Regions from separate parts of the Homo sapiens genome. Here region 1 is linked to region 2. Evidence: promoter capture Hi-C in human tissues and cell types (Jung and others, 2019). All regions are on one chromosome and are shown on one strand. Each heading gives the region's core, a stretch centred on a gene start or on the middle of the fragment in contact. The rest is flanking DNA. Distances are from core to core; before and after follow the strand shown.

Evidence for each region. The method cuts DNA at HindIII sites, captures the fragments that hold promoters and counts their contacts. A contact is called where the count stands out against the background at its distance.
Region 1: a contact is called between a fragment that was not itself captured here and the fragment with the promoter of CEBPE in region 2, in 3 of the 25 tissues and cell types used here (mesenchymal stem cells, mesendoderm cells and thymus).

Annotation. Positions count from the first base shown.
Region 1 is chr14:23,227,736-23,234,897 of GRCh38, forward strand. It overlaps a transcript of RNF212B not described here and the pseudogene RPL39P2. Among named protein-coding and RNA genes, the nearest start is that of RNF212B, 6.6 kb to the right of the region's middle. The HindIII fragment of the contact is 6,657 bases long and covers 2,440-7,162 here.
Region 2 is chr14:23,112,993-23,120,504 of GRCh38, forward strand. It overlaps CEBPE (CCAAT enhancer binding protein epsilon), which reads right to left and starts at 6,263. Exons shown (of 2, transcript NM_001805.4): 1 at 5,590-6,263; 2 at 4,314-4,830. The coding sequence starts at 6,099. The coding sequence ends at 4,495. RefSeq lists enhancers at 890-1,608, 1,774-2,973, 6,902-6,981, 7,062-7,512. The HindIII fragment of the contact is 12,579 bases long and covers 1,923-7,512 here.

The sequences.
Region 1 (7,162 bases), core at 4,518-7,017, 110 kb after region 2:
ACTACAGGCATGCATCAGCACGCCTGGCTAATTTTGTACTTTTTGTAGAGACAGGATTTTACTACATTGGCCAGGCTGATCTCAAACTCCTGGACTCAGGTGATTCACCCACCTCAGCCCCCCGAAGTGCTGGGATTACAGGCTTGAGTCACCACACCTGGTCAATAAAAAGTTCTAAAAATATAAAAGTTTTTTAAAAATCTCATCAGGCAATGCCAGGCATGGTGGCTCAAGCCTGTAATCCCAGCACTTTGGGAGGCCGAGGCAGGTGGATCACCTGAGGTCGGGAGTTCAAGACCAGCCTGACCAACATGGAGAAACCTCGTCTCTACTAAAAATACAAAATTAGCCAGGCGTGGTGGCACATGCCTGTAATCCCAGCTACTCAGGAGGCTGAGGCAGGAGAATTGCTTGAAGGTGGTGGAGGTGGAGATTGCGGTGAGCTGAGATCGTGCCATCACACTCCAGCCTGGGTGACGAGAGCGAAACTCTGTCTAAAAAAAAAACTCATCAGGCTCTTTTTAGAAATTGTTTATCTGATAATAAAATTCATTTGGAAATGCAAATGAGTTAGAATGGTCAAAGCAACTCTGCAAAAGAACAGGCTGGCCAGGCGCAGTGGATCACAGCTGTAATCCCAGAGCTTTGGGAGGCCAAGGCAGGAAAATCACTTGAGGCCAGGAGTTTGAGGCCAGCCTGGCCCACATAGTAAAACCCTATCTCTACCAAAAAAAAAAAAAAAAAAAAAAAAATTAACAGGTGTGGTGGCATGTGCCTGTAGTCCTAACTATTTGGGAGGATGAGCAGGGAGGATGAGCAGGGAGGATCACTTGAGCCCAGGACTTCCAGGTTGCAGTGACTTGTGATCACATTAACGCAATCCAGCCTGGGTGACAGAGCAAGACTCTCTAAAAAAACAAAAAAACAAAACAAAACAAAACAAAAACACAAGAAGAAGAAAGAACAAAGAGGATCAAGACTACATCATTTCAAGACTTATCATAAGGCTACAGTAAGTGACAGTATGGTATTGGCATCAAGACAGACAAATCAATCAGTGGAACAGAATAGAGCATGCAGAAATGGGCTTGAATATGTATAGAACACTGATTTTCCTTTTTATTTCGGTAAAATATATAACATAAAATTTGCTATTTTAACCATTGTTAGTGTGCAATTCAGTGGCATTAGGTACATTCACAATGTTGTACAATCATCATCTCTATTTCCATAATTTTTCATAACCACTAACAGAAACTCTTCACCCATTAAGCAATTACTTCCTATCTCTCATACCCCTAGTTCCTGCTAACCTCTAATCTACTTTCTGTCTCTATAAATCTGACTGTTCTGGATATTTCAGTGAGATTATACAATATTTCTCTTTTTGTGTCTGGCTTATTTCACTTAGCATAATTTTTTCAAGATTCATCCATGTTGTAGCATGTATCAAAACTTTATTTCCTTTATGGCTGAATAATATTTTATATATATATATATATATATATATATATATATATATATATACCACATTGTTTATCCATTCATCTACTAATGGACATTTGTGTTGTTTCTATCTTTTGGTTATTGTGAATAATGCTGGTAGGAATATTGGTGTACACATATCTGTTTGAGCCCCTGTTTTAAATTATTTTGTATACACCTAGGAATGGAATTGCTGGGTCACATGGCAGGATAGTTCTATTTTTCACTTTTTGAGGAGCCACCAAATTGCTTTCCAAAGCAGGTGCATCATTGTACATTCCCATCAGCAATGTACAAGGGTTCTGATTTCTCCATATCCTCCTAAAACATATTTTCATTTAGAAAATTCTAGCCACCCCACCACATGTGAAATGATATTTCACTGTGGTTTTAATTTGCATTTCCCCTATGACTAATTATATTGAGAATCTTTTCATGTGTCTGCTGGACACTTCTATATCTTCTTTGTAGAAATGTCTATTCAAATCTTTTGCCTATTTTTAATTGGGTTGTTTGACTTTTTTGTTGTTGAGTTGTTCTTTTTTTTGAAACAAGAGTTCTCACATATTTATTACTGAACCCAGACTACTAGCGCACAGCAAATAAAGAAACAGAAAAACTATATTCCCAATAAAACATGCCCAACTGTCCAGATAGTGGTGACATTTTTAGCTTGATATGGTAAGATGGTTATGAGCTTGATACTGCATAAATATGTGTGCCATCTCGTGCACAATTCCTTATAGATCCAGCTTGAATCTTCTCCAATGTCTCCTTTTAAAGTTGTACCTGATTTTATTATCAGTTTTCATCCAAATCCACTGAGGAATGGGATGATTTTGCTTTTGTTTCTTGGTTAGGAATTGCTTAATACTGAAAGTCTTGTGAGAAGACATGATGAGAAGCGGAGTCGAATACACACCACAATGGTGGAAAAAGGAAGAGAGAGAGAGTTGTAGTTCTTTTTATATTTTGAATATTAAAACCTTATCAGATATATGATTTACTAATATTTTATCCCATTCTGTGGGTTGCCTTTCACTTTCTTGATAGTATCCTTTGTTGCACAAAAGTTTTTAATTTTAACTAAGTCCCTTTTATTTATTTTTCTTCTGTTGCCTGTGCTATTTTTGTATTTAAAAAGCCATTGCCGGCCGGGCGCGGTGGCTCACGCCTGTAATCCCAGCACTTTGGGAGGCCGAGGCGGGTGGATCACGAGGTCAAGAGATCGAGACCATCCTGGCTAACACGGTGAAACCCCGTCTCTACTAAAAATACAAAAAATTAGCCGGGTGTGGTGGCGGGGGCCTGTAGTCCCAGCTACTCGGGAAGCTGAGGCAGGAGAATGGCGTGAACCCGGGAGGCGGAGCTTGCAGTGAGCCGAGATCGCGCCACTGCACTCCAGCCTGGACGACAGAGCGAGACTCCATCTCAAAAAAAAAAAAAAAAAAAAAAAAAAAAAACCATTGCCAAATACAAGGTCATGAAGATTTTCCCCTATATTTTCTTCTAAGAGTTTTAGAGTTTTCACCCATACATTTAGGTCTTTGATCCATTTTGAGTTAATTTTTGTATATGGTGTAAGGTAAGGATTCAACTTTATTCTTTTGCATATGGACATAGTTTTCCCAGCACTGTTTGTTGCAGAGACTGTTCTTTCCCCTATTCAATGGTCTTGACACCCTTGTCAAAAATCAACTGACCATAGATGTGAGGGTTTATTTCTGGATTCTCAGTTCTATTCTGTTGGTCTATATATGTCTATCCTTATGCTAGAAACACACTGTTTTGATTACAGTAGCTTTGTAGTAGGTTTTGAAATTGGGCAATATGAGTCTTCCAAATTTTTTCCTTTTTAAGATTGTTTTGACTATTCTAAGTTTTTTGAAATTTTATATTAATTTTAGGGTGGATTTTTCAATTTCTGAAAAAATAGTTGGAATTTTGATAGGGATGACATTGAATCCGTATATAGCTTTGGATGCTATTGTAAACAATATTAAGTAGTGTTCTATGTACAAACAAGTCTTGTGCCTCTCCTTGATTAAATTTATTCCTAAATATTTTATCCTTCTTGATGCTGTCACAAATGGAATTATTTTCTCTGGGCAATCAATTTTTGACAAAGGCAATTTAGTTGAGAAAAGTTAATCTTTTAAAAAAATGGTGCTGAAACAATTGGATATCCACATGCAAAACACACCCACATATGCACATGCAAACTTTAATCCATACCTCACACCATGTAGAAAATTAACTCAAATGAATCATATACCTAAATGTAAAATCAAAATTACAAATCTAGATTTCTAGAATTTTTGAAGAAAATTTCCAGAGGTACCCCATTTTCCTTTCAGAGTAGAAGAAAAGATAAGAATATTTAAAGAGCTCCCCCTCTCCCCTCTCCCCTCTCCCCTCTCCCCACGGTCTCCCTCTCCCTCTCTTTCCATGGTCTCCCTCTGATGCTGAGCCGAAGCTGGACTGTACTGCTGCCATCTCGGCTCACTGCAACCTCCCTGCCTGATTCTCCTGCCTCAGCCTGCCCAGTGCCTGCGATTGCAGGCACGCGCCGCCACGCCTGACTGGTTTTTGTATTTTTTTGGTGGAGAGGGGGTTTCGCTGTGTTGGCCGGGCTGGTCTCCAGCTCCTAACCGTGAGTGATCTGCCAGCCTCGGCCTCCCGAGGTGCCGGGATTGCAGACGGAGTCTCGTTCACTCAGTGCTCAATGTTGTTGCCCAGGCTGGAGTGCAGTGGCGTGATCTTGGCTAGCTACAGCCTCCACCTCCCAGCCGCCTGCCTTGGCCTCCCAAAGTGCCGAGATTGCAGCCTCTGCCCGGCTGCCACCCCGTCTGGGATGTGAGGAGCGTCTCTGCCTGGCTGCCCATCGTCTGGGATGTGAGGAGCCCCTCTGCCCGGCTGCCCACTCTGGGAAGTGAGGAGGGCCTCTTCCCCGCCGCCATCCCGTCTAAGAAGTGAGGAGCGTCTCTGCCCGGCTGCCCATCGTCTGAGATGTGGGGAGCGCCTCTGCCCCGCCGCCCCATCTGGGATGTGAGGAGCGCCTCTGCCCGGCCGCAACCCCATCTGGGAGGTGAGGAGCGTCTCTGCCCGGCTGCCCTGTCTGAGAAGTGAGGAGCCCCTCCACCTGGCAGCCACCCCATCTGAGAAGTGAGGATCCCCTCCGCCCGGCAGCCGCCCTGTCTGAGAAGTGAGGAGCGCCTCCGCCCGGCAGCCGCCCCGTCTGAGAAGTGAGGAGCCCCTCCGCCCGGCAGCCGCCCCGTCTGGGAAGTGAGGAGCGTCTCTGCCCAGCAGCCACCCCTCTGGGAGGGAGGTGGGGGTCAGCCCCCGCCCAGCAGCCACCCCGTCCGGGAGGGAGTTGGGGGGTCAGCCCCCGCCCGGCCAGCCTCCCCGTCCGGGAGGGAGTTGGGGGGTCAGCCCCCACCAGGCCAGCCGCCCCGTCTGGGAGGGAGGTGGGGGGTCAGCCCCCGCCCGGCCAGCCGCCCCGTCCGGGAGGGAGGTGGGGGGGTCAGCCCCCACCCGGCCAGCCGCCCCGTCTGGGAGGGAGGTGGGGGGGGGGTCAGCCTCTGCCCGGCCGCCACCCTGTCTGGGAGGTGGGGGTGCCTCTGCCCAGCTGCCCCGTCTGGGAAGTGAGGAGCCCCTCTGCCCGGCCACCACCCCATCTGGGAGGTGTACCCAACAGCTCATTGAGAACGGGCCATGATGACGATGGTGGTTTTGTGGAATAGAAAAGGGGGAAAGGTGGGGAAAAGACAGAGAAATCAGATTGTTGCTGTGTCTGTGTAGAAAGAAGTAGACATAGGAGACTCCATTTTGTTCTGTACTAAGAAAAATTCTTCTGCCTTGGGATGCTGTTGATCTATGACCTTACCCCCAACTCTGTGCTCTCTGAAACATGTGCTGTGTCCACTCGGGGTTAAATGGATTAAGGGCGGTGCAAGATGTGCTTTGTTAAACAGATGCTTGAAGGCAGCATGCTGGTTAAGAGTCATCACCACTCCCTAATCTCAAGTACCCAGCGACACAAACACTGCGGAAGGCCGCAGGGTCCTCTGCCTAGGAAAACCAGAGACCTTTGTTCACATGTTTATTGGCTGACCTTCCCTCCACTATTGTCCTATGACCCTGCCAAATGCCCCTCTGCGAGAAACACCCAAGAATGATCAATTAAAAAAAAAAAAAAGAATATTTAAAGAAAAGAAAATTTTATCTGGGTTTGGTGGCTCATGCCTATAATCCCAGTACTTTAGGAGGCTGAGGTGGGAGGATCAGTTGAGCCCAGGAGTCTGAGACCAGCCTGGGCAACATGGTGAAACCCCATCTCTACAAAAAAAAAAAAAAAAAAAAAATAGAAAAATTAGCCGGGTATGGTGGTGCATGCTTGTAGTCCCAGCCACTCGGGAGGCTGAGTTAGGGGAATCATTCGGGCCTGGGAGGTTGAGGCTGCAGTGAGCCATAATCATGACACTGCACTTCAGCCTGGGCAACAGAGTGAGACCCTGTCTCAAAAAAAAAAAAAAAAAAAAGAGTTCTCAAAACTCAACAATAAGAAAATAAACAACCCAATTAAAAATGGGTAGGTTGGGCATGGTGGCTCATGCCTGTAATCCCAGCACTTTGGGAAGCCAAGGTGGGCGGATCACCTGAGGTCAGGAGTTCGAGACCAGCCTGGCCAACACGGTGAAACCCTGTCTCTACTAAAAATACAAAAATTAGCCAGGCCTGGTGGTGTGTGCCTGTAGTTCCAGCTACTCAGGAGGCTAAGGCAGGAGAATTGCTTGAACCTGGGAGGCAGAGGTTGCAGTGAGCTGAGATAGTACCACTGCACTTGCACTCCAGCCATGTATACCATGTGTACGAAGGAACACTCAAAAAGCCCAGAACACTCAAAACCAAGATATTTTCTAGGAAAACTGTTGGTCTCTTTTTTTTTTCAACTGTTCAAATTTCTATTAAGTTGTTGGTTTTCTTTTTTAAAAAGCTCTTTGTATATTAAAGCTATTAGCCCTTTAGGATTTAAGTTGATTTTTTTTGTAATTTGTCACTTTGTGCTTTACTTTTCGTGTGTGTGTGTGTGTGTACATGCAAAAAGTTTTTTTTAAAATTACTTAGTCAAATTTGTCAATATTTTCTCTCTTCTAGATTTTTGGATCCTAGGAAGATTTCCTGCACACCTAGGTTATAAGAGTATTTACTATTATTTTCGTCTGGTACCTGTCTGTTTAGATTTCTGATCCATTTGAAATTTATCCTGGTAAACAGTATGAGAAACAGACTCAATTTTATATTTTTTCAGATGGCTATTCAGTTGTCCCAATTCTATGTATATAAAAATTCAATTCCCCATGCACACTTACCAATTAAAATTTATTAACGTACTTGGTTCTATTTCTAGACTTGATTCTGTTTCATTGGTCTACACGTTTATGCACCAACACCACACTTTAAATTACAGACGTTTTATAATATATTTTAATATTGGATGGGGCTAACGCCCCACTCCACATGGCACTAAAATATTTTCCAGTGAAAACTTTTATTTAAGTAGAATTAAGATTACTCAGGCATGATGCTACATGCCTGTAATCCCAGCTGCTGGGGAGGCTGAGGCAGCAAGATGGTTTGAGGTCAGGAATTTGAGACCAGCCTGGGCAACACAGTG
Region 2 (7,512 bases), core at 5,013-7,512:
ACCGTCCCGATTGCAGCAAGGTTGGATAGCCTGGCCAGGGGTGACAGTGCTAGGTGTGTGTGTGGTGGTGGTGGTGGGGGGGGCGTGGTGAGCAATAGGGGTTTGGACAGTTTAGGACTCCAGGGTGAAGCTTAGCTCATGGGGCGTAGGGGATGGATCCATTCTATGTGTGGCTTGCCTCTACCTACCCCTAGAACCCTGTTTCTTCTAAAAGGGAAGCAAATCTAAGGGAAAAATCTAGTCTGTCCCTGGACCTAAAATAAATACATAAATAAATAAATAATAAAAGAGAAGCAAGAGGCTACAGCTCTGTGGTGGGTCTTTCCCTATCAAGAAGCCTGCCCCTTCCCAGGCCCTGGGACCTTTCCATTGCTCTCTGAAGTCAGAATTGATGGCCATTTTGATAAAGTTAAGTTGTAGCCATTTTCCTCTGAAAACCCACACCCTCTCCCCTTGGGGAGAATTTCTCATATGCCACTGAGGTTTTCTGAGGCCAGGCCAGGCCTGCTTATGGAAGCAGCTGACAGAGGTCAGCCAGGGGTTCTGTCCAGCTTGGGCCACTCCCATTTTGGAGCAGCTCATGCTGAGTCGGGAGGAGGGGTCTGTCTGCGGGGGGTGGGGGGTGCTGGTGAGGGTGATGGGAAGTGACTGGCCTGTCCGAGAGGAGACGCACAGGCTCTCAGCCAGCCCTGCCTATTGTTGCCTCAGCGTCTCCTGAACAGCCCCCTTCATCCCATAGTCCCCTCACTGGCTTGGAGCACGGCAGGGGGTGGAGGTGAAGAGGCCCCTTTCCACCCACAACCCCAACCGGGATCTTGCAACACTGGGATGGGGGCCCTGGGGGCCCAGGCATGTGGCAATCTGTGTAGAGGGGTGGGGAGGTGTGCACCGAGCAGGGGGGTTGGGGGCAGCTTTCACAAGCCACTGCCTCCGCTGACTGACCTTGGCAGACTCACCTTGGGCAGCTTCCTCCCTCTGCAGTGTCTCCCCACAGTCTGTCTTCTCCTCTGCAGCTTCCCTGTGGCCTAAGATCCTGTCTCTCAGCTCAGGAGTCTCATTCTGCTCCCCAGTTCTGCTCCAGAAAGAAAAGTGGGCCTGAGCTGTGGGCGCTGAAGCAATAGGACTGCATGCGTGTGCTGTTTGGACCTTGATTTGCTGGTTTTCAAACGTTATCGAGTCCCCGGTCCTGGTGCCTTTCCCCAGGCAGGGTTTGGCTAACTGCCCTTCCCTGGGCTCCTTTCTGTCATCTCCTTCCCCAGTGGGGACAACCTTACTGTGGTAAAGGTGCCAGGAGGACCAAGGGGCAGGGAAGCTGAATCCAGGGGCAGAGAGAACCCTGCTCTCCACCTGCCCCGGCTTCTTAGGCACCATCCTCCTTGACAGAGGGAATGAAAATAGTCATTTGCAACCCCTGCAGCCCCATTCTGGAGGGAAGGTGCATCTTTTTCTTACTTATCCTCTCCTTCCTTCTTTCATTCAGCATCTACTCCTGGCTTCCTTTCTCTCGGTCACCTTAGGGCTTTTGCATTTACCCTTCCCTCTGTTCACCCTTACACTCAAAGACATACCTGCCTCCTTCTCAAAATTTTTGAAGTGTCAACTAAAATGTCACTTCCTCAGAGATACCTTTCTCGGCCACCCCAGCTAAAATAGCCTCCCTACCTGTTGGTTTATGTGGTTTCCCCAATGGGCTATTCAAATGGAGTAAGCAGGAGAAGTTAATTAAGGTGCTTTATGAAGATGTGAACCAACAGTATCTGGGGAAAGTTCCTGGAGTGGTGAAGTCCCCTGGGCTAGCCCAGCACGGGGGGCGCCTGAGGGCCAGGAATCCTTTGGGAGGGACTGTGGAGAGCGCCGGTCAGCAGGGGGCTCCCACCACTCTCCTCCTGCCAGTCTCACCCCCACCCCATGAGAGGCTGGTTGATGTAGGGAGGCATCCACCTGGGGACTGTGTAGGGTGATGAAGGGTGGAGAGGGTTCTGGAGGGGCAAAGGAAGACATTCAGCACACTTGTTTATTGACTTTTTCTTCCTACTCCTTCTGCTGAGAACTTGTCTCATTCCTAGAAAAGATACTCAACAAATACTTGTTGAATAAGTTACGTTGGCCAAAACCAATTGAGGTCAGATTGAAAGCCTCTTTCAGGAAGTGTGCCCTCTGGCTCTGACTCACACCCCTGGAATATGATCTGATGCAGAGGATTGGGATGTGTTCAGCTGCTGCACGTCACGCTGGGATCACAGTGGGGAGACGGGGATGTGACTCCCCCAGACTGGGTGCCAGTCAGGAAGGCTCCACTAGGCACCGGCCCTGAGGACCTGACTGGGTGAGCGGGGGCCTGAGAGGAGAAGCAATTCAGAGCTGTGGGAACAAAGCCTGGGCTTCATGCTGAAGCAACCCAGGTCCCATCACCCAGAACCTTGAAAGTAAGTCAAGGGACAGTGGTCTTGAGCTGAGAGGAGGAAATCCGGAGGTTGAGTCATTTACCATGTTCTGTACAAACCCCCCTTATGCAACCTATCCCCCTGGGCTGAAAGGAAGGTGTGAGGATTCTCCCAGGTGCCCACAGAGACTGGTACCTCCCCTCCTTCTGAACTCAGGAAGCTCCAGTCGGTCCCTCCACTGAAGGTTCAGATCTCTCCCTCCAAACCAGACCTGGGGCACGGGCCTCCAGGACACAGAGGTGCCCGAGAGACACAGAGGCAAAGGCAGGAAAAGGACTGAGTCCTGGGCAAGGTAGACATGCCGCACACGGATGCCCGAGGTGTGGGAGGGCTCTACCGCTGGAGATTTGAAGAAGGGAGAGAGATCTGGGATGATCCAGACACCAGTCTCTCACCTTCTCAGAAAATTATTCCTTGATGTCTGACTCAGCCTTTCACAGCATTGGCTTAGGAGAGACTTTAAGAAGCCCGTAATCTGTCCCTGGGTCCCTGACACTGTTGGGCACTGTTCTTTATTGAATGTGATTCATGTGACACTCGTACTGAGGATCTGTGAGAAGAGTGTAGCGTGGAGTAGAGAGACAGGTACCACGTACTGAGGCAGCAAAGGGACTCAGTGAGTGTCAGGAGAAGCCTCTTACCCCTCTGGCCCTCAACTGCTTTATCTGTAAAATGTGGCTCACCCTACCTTGCTGGTCTGAGGGCAGAGCCCACCAGATGATCTCTTGAGGTCTCTCCCAGCACATCTTGAGATCTGCGATTTTACAGAGCCAATTTTGGTTCTACCTCTAAACAATCGTGTGACTCCAGGTAAGTCCCTTCCCCTCTTTGCAGCCTGTTTTCTTACCTGCAAAATGAGTTTAGATGAGATCTCTGAGGTCCTTTCAGTTCCAGCAAAATGGAGGAATCATAATAAATATGCTTATTACATGCAAAGTTTTCTTTTTCTATGAATATAACAACACTACGGAGTGGGGACAAATATTGCAACCATTTTGCAGATGAGGAAACTGAGGCACAGAAAGACATAATGGCTCAAGGCTCACAGCTAGTAAGTAGCAGTGTAAGATTCAAACTGAGGCTCTTAATTATTGTACCATTCTGTCTCTTAGGCTGTAGTCCAATGCAAAAGAAAATGCTGTTTCGAATGATGGGTTTCCCTGGCACGGGCAGATTGTCATCCTCCTTCTCACTACCAGTGTTCTCATACACAAATCCGGTCTCCAGGTCTTTCCCAACCGATTCCTGTCCCATGCACTCAATTCTCAAGCTTTAGGGAACTGGAGCCTCAGGGATGAGGGACAAAGGATGGAAATGAATGGGTGGGAGCAGCGTGGGGAGGGTGTCCATCTGGTAGACTGAGGCTTTGGAAATGGAGAGAAGAGATGGCGGGCTGGATCAAGGGACCATAAATATGGCAGAGCCATCAGGAATTTTCCCATGGTCACCTGGGGCAGGAGCTCCCAGACCTATACCTCAAGGTGAGAGAGAGTGGGCCTGGGATCAGCAGGCCTGGGCATGAAGGACTGTGTGGTGCCGGGATCTCCCTACAAGCTGAAGATCTTTGTTAGCAGAGCATACAAAGGTGCTCCAGGTCCTGTGGGGGGCGGGGATGTGCCTTCAGCTCACAGAAGGGGGTGATGGGGGATGTCAGGGAGAGAAGAGCAGAGTGACAGATACACGGCCTGGCTGTGTGGTATATTGGGGGTGGGCTGTGGACAGCATGTCTGTGTTTCCACATGTCCACTTGGTCATGGAAACAAGAGGTGCAGACCTAGCCACATGCATCCTCTGTCCCCAGGGTCCTCCATGACACACACACACACACACACACACACACACACACACACACAGCCAACAGTCCCAACACCCAGTCACAGTGCAACTTTATTCAGCCATATAATCATTATGCTGGGTCCTGCCCTCTTTGCCACCCCGGTTGCCATTTATCCATGGTCTATGTCTCAGGGTTCTAGGCCCCCAGCAGGATGGGGGTCCGCAGAGTTAGGCCGTGCCAGGGAGCCTGGTGCCCACAATCCACCAGCCAGCCTCAGCTGCAACCCCCCACGCCCTTGATGAGGTTGGCCGCCTCAGGAATCTGGCGGAAGAGGTTGCGGAGGGTGTCTAGCTCCTGGGTGAGCTGCTCCACGCGGCTGCGGAGGCGCTCGTTCTCTGCCATGTACTCCAGCACCTTCTGCTGCGTCTCCAGAATGCGCCTCTTGGCCTTGTCTCGGCTCTTGCGCACGGCGATGTTGTTGCGCTCCCGCCTCAGCCGGTACTCAAGGCTATCTTTGTTCACTGCCTTCTTGCCCTTGTGTAAGGGGCCAGCCGGGGAGGGCGCCTTCAGGAGGGGACTGCAGGGGGGTGCGGCAGTGGCCAAAGGGGCCTGGAGGGGAAGGCACGGAGAGACGGAGAGGTGAGGGCTGGCCAGGAGGCAGAGCGGAGGCGGGGCGGGAATCTCGGCAGCCAGGGCACACTTGATGCGTCAAAGGAATACAGGACTCAGAGCCAGCTCCTGTCTCTCAGGTCAAAACTATCATCGCTCTGCTTCTGGGAGATGGTGACCCAGATGCACAGGGTCCTCTGCTTGAGACCAAAACTCCCTTTCATGTTCTCACACTTTCTTTCTTTCTTTTTTTGTAAAGATGGAGCCTTGCTATGTTGTCCAGGCTGGTCTCCAACCCCTGGCCTTAAGCGAACCTCCTGCTTTGGCCTCCCAAAGCGCTGGGATTACAGGCATGAGCCACGACACCCAGCCAATGCTCTCACACTTTCTGAGTACACTTTCCCTCAATCTGCCTTGAGTCTCCCGTTCTATGACCAGTAGACATTTCTCACAGAAGCAGGCGGCAGAGAAACAAGAGGAGGGGGCATGGTGAGCAGCAGAGAGGCTGGCGGTGGGGGCCTGAGATCAAGTAGGTCAGCTTGCCACAGGGGCTTTGGGTGGGGATTCAGGGTGGGAATGAATTCACAGAGAAGGAAAGGGAGGTCATGGTGGGGTGTGAACACAGAGGACTGTGGGTTGGGTCCATTTCACAGAGCGACACCAAGCACAGGCTCAGCAGCATGAGCCGGGGCACAGGGTCCTGTCCACACCAGCCTCTCCAGCCCCGGGCAGGAGGGAGGAGGGCTGGCCTGCTCTTACCTTGAGAACGCGCAGAGGCTGGCCGGGTGCTGCCAGAGTTGGGGGCAGGTGCATGGCTGTCTGCCCACAGTGTGCCACTTGGTACTGCAGGGGATTGTAGCTGCCTCGGCTGGCAGCTCGGCTGCCCTCTGGCCCCCGGGGCTCCTCCTTCACCGCCACAGCCCTGGGGTCGTAGCTCCCTGGGCTGCTGTAGATGCCAGGCCCCAGCGCCTTCCTGTCTGGGCCGAAGGTATGTGGAGGGTAGGCAAAGGGCCGAGGGTCAGGCGGCAAGTAGTGGGGGAAGGCAGGGGTTCCGGGGCCCTTGAGGCCTCTGGCCTCAGGCGCTGGCTTCACGGCAAAGAGATCGGAGAGAAGCTGCTCTTCCCCAGACTCGATGTAGGCGGAGAGGTCAATGGAGGCCTCATGCTCACACATGTCCCCTAGCTCCCCGGGCCCAGCTCGGCCCCCTGAGAACTCGAGTGGCTGCTGGCCACCCCGGGGCTCACACTCGTAGTAGGTCCCGTGGGACATGGCCGGCCCGCCCCCTCGGCTCCCCGCCCCCACCTGCTCTTGAGGCACCCCTTGGGGTGCTCCGGCTGCCCTCTCTCTACCTCCTCCTGACCTGGGCCTGCCCTCTCTCGATCTTCTGCCCTAGACCTGCCCTCTGCAGTCTCCTCTGTCACCCACTCCTGTGTGGCCTCTCTCCCCCCTCTGCTCTGCTTCCTTTTCCTTCCTCTGTAGTCAATGCCTCTCTTCTCTTCCCTTTTTTCCCCTCTCTCCCCTTGGGGTGACTCAGGGAGGGGCAGGACACACCCCAGAGGGAGAGATGTAAGCCTTAGAGAAAGGCGACTCCTGGCCTATTCAGCAGTTGGGGACACTCCTTGGTCAGGGACCAAGCCAGGGTTCTGGAGATGCCCGAAGCTGATGCTTCTGGGAATGCCTCTCCACTCCCTGCTGGGAGGCCAGGGGACTCCAAATCCTCGCAGAGGGCAACACCCCACTCTGAGCAACCTCCTCCCTCCGACTTTGAAAAAGTTCTATGCAGAATGAGGTTCCAAGTTAGAGTGAAGAGAGAAAGCCCTCTTCCAGTGCCTACCCTCAGTTGGGTCTCACCTCCTCCCTTGACACGCCTTCCTCTGGCTCTCCCCTGCTGCTGGGCTCCACCTACCCCCAAGAGAAAGTTTCTTTTGTAGCCCCACCTCCCAGAGCATTCTCTGAGTGTAGGCCAGGGTTTGTTTTTTGAGGGGTCTAGGGAGTAGTGATAGGTCCTAGGAACAAGCTCTACACGCGAGCCTGCGTGGTGCTCCAGAGCATGCTCATTTGCTAGGTTTTTGCACAGGAGCTGTGCAATAGCCCACATGTTAGTGCGTTTCCAGCCCTAGCTACCTCTAGCAGCCTGGTACACTTCCTAACTCCCTGGGCTTGGCCAAAGCACCTGGTCAGGACTTGGGCCTTGCACCGCAGGCCTAGGCAGGTTGCTGCCCTCGGAGTAGACAGCCATAATCCTCCGGTGGCTCCAGCACTTCTCTCTTCCAGCTGCTCTGTGCTGCAAGAGGCTCAGGCTGGTGCTTCGCCCCTCACCCTGGGCCTGAGGCTCTGCCTCTGGTTTCCTGTGCCTGGGCTGCAGGGCTTAGGAGCTTGCTGCAGCTCGTTTGCTGTCTTTCCTTTTGCATGGCCGCTCTCTGATCTCCAATGCGTGTCTCTTGGGTCTACTTCCTCTTGTGAGGTTTGAGAAGCCTCTTATGTCATCACCTCTTCCTGGGGCTCTGTTTTAGGGTCTCCAGGAGAAGCCCATGGCTCCCTCTCTGCAATTCTTTGTTCTGTGCTGGCTCTCCTCTTCCCTTTTCTCTTTCCTTTGGGAACTCCCCACTACCTCCTTTCAGAGACACCTGCTCTGGTACTGCTTTTACCTGTTGAATTTCATCTCCAAAAGGGATTGTAGGT